Linked DNA regions of Homo sapiens: region 1 is linked to region 2. The links are contacts of gene promoters, found by promoter capture Hi-C in human tissues and cell types (Jung and others, 2019). All regions are on one chromosome and are shown on one strand. The core of a region is centred on a gene start or on the middle of the fragment in contact, and the rest is flanking DNA. Distances in the headings are between cores, read along the strand shown.

What was found. Contacts are between HindIII fragments. The study calls those that stand out against the background at their distance.
Region 1: a contact is called between the fragment with the promoter of OR10H1 here and the fragment with the promoter of ZNF333 in region 2, in 1 of the 25 tissues and cell types used here (adrenal gland).

The regions. Positions count from the first base shown.
Region 1 is chr19:15,814,348-15,817,231 of GRCh38, forward strand. It overlaps OR10H1 (olfactory receptor family 10 subfamily H member 1), which reads right to left and starts at 1,317. Exons shown (of 4, transcript NM_013940.4): 1 at 1,208-1,317. The HindIII fragment of the contact is 22,557 bases long and covers 1-2,884 here.
Region 2 is chr19:14,688,577-14,691,666 of GRCh38, forward strand. It overlaps ZNF333 (zinc finger protein 333), which reads left to right and starts at 1,472. Exons shown (of 12, transcript NM_032433.4): 1 at 1,472-1,574. RefSeq lists silencers at 1,066-1,115, 1,446-1,815. The HindIII fragment of the contact is 4,983 bases long and covers 1-3,090 here.

The DNA.
Region 1 (2,884 bases), core at 67-2,566, 1.1 Mb after region 2:
CTTCCACTTAAGCCACCACTTCCCTCTCTTTTCTCTCCATCTTCTCATCCCCAGCTCCTAACCATTCCCTCACCACCTGCTCCCATTGACGCCTCCCTTGTGTGTGTGTGTGTGTGTGTGTGTGTGTGTGTGTGAGAGAGAGAGAGAGAGAGAGAGAGAGAGAGAGAGAGAGAGAGAGAGAGAGAGACAGGGTATCCCTCTGTCACCCAGGCTGGAGTGCAGAGGCACAATCACAGCTCACTGCAGCCTTAACTTCCTGGGCTCAAGCAATCCTCCCACCTCAATCTCTGGAGTAGCTACAGGTGCCTGCCATTCCTGGCCAATTTTTGTATTTTTTTGTACAGACAGGGTCTCACTATGCTGCCCAGGCTGGCCTCAAACTCTTGGACTCAAGTGATCCTCCCACCTTGGCCTCCCAAAGTGCTGGGATTGCAGGCATGAGCCACTGCACCCGGCCCACCCTGATTCTTTACACCCTGGGGTGGTGGCTGGAGCTTCTGAACCCTGAATCCTCTTTCTCTCTTTTCTCCGCCTCTTCCCAATCCTTTTTCCGTAGACTTCTTGCCTGGACAGACCGAGAAGAGAGGTTAAAATCAAACCATCACCTTGGGTCACATTGAGCATTGGCTGTCTTCTCTCTGCACCTGTTACCTCCCCCATCCAAGGGACCTACCTCATGAGGCAGCAGGAGCTCTAAAGAAGGCAAGTCCTGGCTGGGCACGATGGCTCATGCCTGTAATCCCAGTACTTTGGGAAGCCGAGGCGGGTGGATCACGAGATCAGGAGTTCAAGACCAGCCTGTCCAGCATGGTGAAACCCCTGTCTCTACTAAAAATACAAAAAATTAGCCAGGCATGGTGGCACGCACCTGTAGTCCCAGCTACTCAGGAGGCTGAGGGAGAAGAATCGCTTGAACCTGGCAGGCGGAGGTTGCAGTGAGCCGAGATTGCGCCACTGCACTCCAGCCTGGGCTACAGAGCGAGATTCCGTCTCAAAAAAAAAAAAAAAAAAATAGAAGAAGGTAAGTCCTGCTAAGCAAACAGCACACTGACTAAGACGTGGTGAGTGGCCTCTGCCTGTCACCCACTGCCCTGTAGACTCACATTGCTAAAGGAGTAATATAAACAGGTGGTTTCTTGGAGTCCCTGGCAGGTGCTGGTTCCCCAGGTCTCTCCTGGTCAGGTGGCTGAGAGGGGAGGTGACTCACCTGGGACTCCAGGCATCTGCTTCTGCTTCATCCCAGTAGGAGGCTCTAGTTTGGAGTTTCTCCACAGGTGGGAGCTGACCAGGTGTGGGCTGCACCAAGCAGCCACACCAGCTGAGCCGGGGGCTTGACTGAGCCCAAATGCGATTATTTATCCCTCCCTGACTCCCTGCCCACCGGCTTCCCTCGCTGTGGTCCTACTGTCTCTGTCTCCGCTACAGGGATGCTGGGACCCCAGGGACCCTGCCAGAGAGGAGGCAACCTCAGGGAATCTGTATCCTCACTTTCCCATTCCCCCCGCCTGCCAGGGGTGAGTCAATTCCCTGAGCTTGTCAAGAGCTTGAGCAGAGTCTAGTGCTCTACAGATTTGGGGTTTGGGCCCATGACTGTTGAAATTGACAGGAGGGCAGCCCTGCCATTGCCCCCAGGGACTGCAGAGGCTGCCTTGATATGCCCCGTCACCTTCATTCTTCTCCAACTGGGTCATTTGCCCAACTAAATGTCCTTTAAAATAATTTTTTAAAACCAACACACACACACGTATTTGTTTTTATTTTTATTTTTTGAGACAGGGTCTAGCTCTGTTGCCCAGGCTGGAGTGCAGTGGTGTGATTATGGCTCACTGCAGCCTCAACCTCCCAGGCTCAAATGATTCTCCTGCCTCAGCCTCCTGAGCAGCTGGGAGTAAAGGTGCTTGCCACCACACCTGGGCTAAGTTTTAATTTTTCTGTAGAGATGGGGTCTCGCTTTGTTGCCCAGGCTGGTCTTGAGCTCCTTGGCTCAAGGGATCCTCCCACCTTGACCTCTCAAAGTGCTGGGATTACAGCTGTGAGCCACCATGCCTGGCCTGTTTCTTCTTATTATGTAATTGAAATGCTACATACAAAGCAGCAAACCATGCAATGGCCAGCCAGGCAATCGTGACGGTGAATTTAATGGGTATCCCTTCAGATCTTCATGAGCATGTAGGATGTGAAAACAATGCAAACCCATAAAATCAGAGTTCTGTTGTGCATTATTGTTGCTTTCGCTTCGTTCTGCTTTTGAGGTGAAATTCACATAAAATAATCAACCACTTTAAAGTATACAATTCCCTGGGATTGAATGCATTCACAATGTTGTGTGGCCGCCGCCTCTGTCTAGTTCCAAAATGTTTTCATCACCTAATACCCATTAGCAGCCACTCCCCTACCCCACCCAGTCCTTCAAAACCACCAATTTGTTTTCTGGCTCTGGCTCTATGGACTTACCTATTCTAGACATTTCATATAAATGGGACTATATACTACTATATATAACGATGCATTATGATTGCCCCTGTGAGTAGCCACGGCACTCCAGCCATTTTGTCAACACAAAAATGTCGACATTGCCAAGACTGAGAAACTTTGGTCTGCATAAACTCACACAGAGTTCACTCTAAGACGCTGAGTGAAAAACCAAGTTACGGAAAGATATCTACGGGAGAATCAGATCTGCATTTTAAAAACACACAAAATGGTTTGACAGTTTATCAAAAAGTTAACATAGAAATTATCAAAGGACTCAGCAATTTCACTCCTAGGTATACACCCAAAAGAATGGAAAAGGATTCAAACAAATCCTTGGACATCAAATGTGCATAGCAGCACTGTTCACAGTAGCCAAACGGTATTTTTTAATTTTTCTGTAGAGAGTAGG
Region 2 (3,090 bases), core at 222-2,721:
TTAAATGTGAGTAATGTGTTGCACTGCAACATTGTGACAGTTACAACATCACTAGGTGATAAGAAATTTTCAGCTCCATTATAACCTTATGGGATCACAACTGTGTATGTGTTTCGTGGTTGACCAAAACCTTGTTATGTGGTGCATGACTGCACATGTGCTTGATATATAAAGAATACCAGGGAACTAGTGACAGTGGTTGTTTCAGGGGAGGAAAATTTAGGAATAGAGTGAGCCTCCCGTTTGAACTTTTCCCATAGGTATGTACTATGTATACTACATAATAAATAGTTTTTAAAAAGTCAGATCTATGTCTTAGATTCACACATCTTATTTTTAGTGAGAAGGGCAAGCTGTAGAAGAAACAAAAATACATCGTCCTATTTTTAGAATAAAGACAGTTAGTTGACCCGTGAACACCAAGGGTTTGAACTGTGGCTATCCCCTTATAGGTAGATTTTTTTCTACCTTTGTCCTCCTTGGGACAGCAAGACAAACCCCTCCCTTTCCTCAGCCTACTCAGGGTGAAGCTGACGATGAAGACGTTTATTTATGATCTTTACGATCACTTCCACGTAACGAAGAGTAAATATATTTTCTCTTCTTCATGATTTTCTTAATAACACTTTCTTTTCTCTGAGCTTAGTTTATTTTAAGAATATGGCATATAATATACAAAATATGTGTTAACTAACTTTATGTTATTGGTAAAGCTTCTGGTTAACAGTAGTCTATTAGTAGGTAGGTTTTGGGGGAGTCAAAAGAAGTGAATTTTCCACTGCACAGGGTGGCGCCCCAACTCCCGTTGCCTAAGGGTCAGCCGTATAAAAATATACAAAAACAATCTTAAGTATGGGTATATTTTTGTAGGGGATTGGATTAAGCCCATGGATAAAGGTGGAAGGGGTTGGGGAAAAGGAAGGAGAAAAGGGTAAGTTAAATATTGAGCATCCCTAAAGAGACCCGGGGAGGGGTCGGGTGTGCCCCTCTCAACCCTTGAAGCCCAGGTCCCCTCATCCCGCCTTCCGAATGCAAGTTCAGCTCCCATTCCCACCCCAAGCACAAGCCCCGCCCCATTTTTGCCCCTGAGGCGCACGACCCGCCCCTACTACCACCCTGCAAACCAAGGCCCCGCCCACTCCGCCATTGGGGTGCAAGCCCCGCCCATCAGCCATCGGAGGGCAAGCCACACTCCACCCCGCCCCCGCGCACAGGCCCCGCCCCACTTTTGCCCCGGGACCTAAGCCCCACCCCTATCCCTGTCTCTCGGACATAGGCTCCGCCCCCAGCACCACCCTCCATGCTCTGTGGGACCCCACTCCAGAGCCTAACCTCATCCCCCGGGTAAGAATACTAGAATTTCTCCTTGGAGGCTAAAGAAGACGTTAGTTTCTCTGCCGCCGCCTAAGGCTACCCTGGCCACAACAGCCTGAGCCACAGCCACTTCCGTTCCCGGCGGCCCCGAGACCGGAAGCGGAAGTGCGCGCGGCGGCGGCCGACGGCGGCTGAGCTGTGCTGCGCGGCGCGGCGCGGTGCGGCACGGCACGGTGGGAGTGTCTCCGGCTGGCTTGCAGGTGTGGCCCGGCCCCTCGGGAGGGCGGGGAGGGCGGGGAGGGCTCGGCTGGCGCGGGGAGGGACTGGAGGGCCTAGAACAGCTCCGCCTGTGTGAGGGGTTTCCTCCCTGCGATCAGCCGGTGGCCGGCGTGAGGCCCACACAGTCAGGGCCTCGCATCTGGGCGCCCGCCGCCCGGTCTCTCGCTCTCAGGTACCCCCCGTCCGGGCAGACAGGGCTGTCATCCTGTCAAAAGGGAAATCCCAAACAGTCCAGGTCCCACAGCTCAGAAATGTGGTGACACCGGCCCCAGCTCTCACCTGTCCTTCCCAATTTTTAGGGAAAGTGCATAAAGACGGCCCTACCTTGCCTACAGTATGCAAGATAACTGCGAATTAGTAATTCACGTTTTATTTGATATGATACTTAATATTATCTAGCTTTGCAACTGGAAAGTGAGGTCTGGGTCCACATGTGCAAACTGGTTTAATTGATTGGCCAAATTTACTTAAAAAATTGAATGCATCCTCCATTAAGGAATGAATTAGATGACGAGAGATTTCTTTTGGAGACTGACAATTTGAAGTCTTTTAGCTTAATATCTGTTAGCTTGGCTTTGCATCTCTTCCTTTTCCATAACTTTTTCTTTCTTCTTTTTTTTCTTTCTCATAAGAAAGCTTTTGGCCAGGCTTGGTGGCTCACTCCTATAATCCCAGCACTTTGGGAGGCCGAGGCGGGTGGATCACCTGAGGTCAGGAGTTTGAGACCAGCCTGGCCAACATGGTGAAACCCTGTCTTTACTAAAAATACACAAATTAGCCGAGCGTAGTGGTGGGCGCCTGTAATCCCAACTACTCGGGAGGCTGAGGCAGGAGAATCGCTTGAACCCCAGAGGCGGAGGTTGCAGTGAGCTGAGATTGTGCCACTGCACTCCAGCCTGGGTGACAGAGCAAGACTCCATCTCAAAAACAAAAACAACAACAAAAGGAGGAGTTCTTAATTTTTTTTGTTTTTGTTTTTCTTTATTTTCTATGTTTGAGACGACTTTTACTTCTGCTGTGGGCATCAAGTTTCTCACTGTTAGGTTAAGAAAAGCCGTTTCTCAGTTATTTCACAAATATTATTATCAAGAAAACCTAAGACTGTTATTCAGATCTTTTCAAGTTGGCTCCAGTCCTTCCCCCAAGCATGTGAATCACAGAGCTTCAAAACTAATGGAACTTCAGGGAAAAGACGATATAAACTTTGTTAATACTGGAAATTCAAATTGAGTTGGCCATAAGTGGGATGTCTTTTTTAATAATGGGGTTAAAGCTCGTGTCTACTGAGAAATCAGGAAAAAATTAACTCCAGAGGAAAATCATGCATCAGATTTCAGTTTTACGAGTGAGGTGTTTGTTTCCACAAAGAATATATGCGCTTGCCTTGCCTTTTTAAAAAGAATTAATATTGTTTCTTAAAGGTACCTGAAACTTGTGTGATTATGTCTTATGAAAGACAGGCACTTTAAGTTATTCTTATATTTGATTTTTATGGTG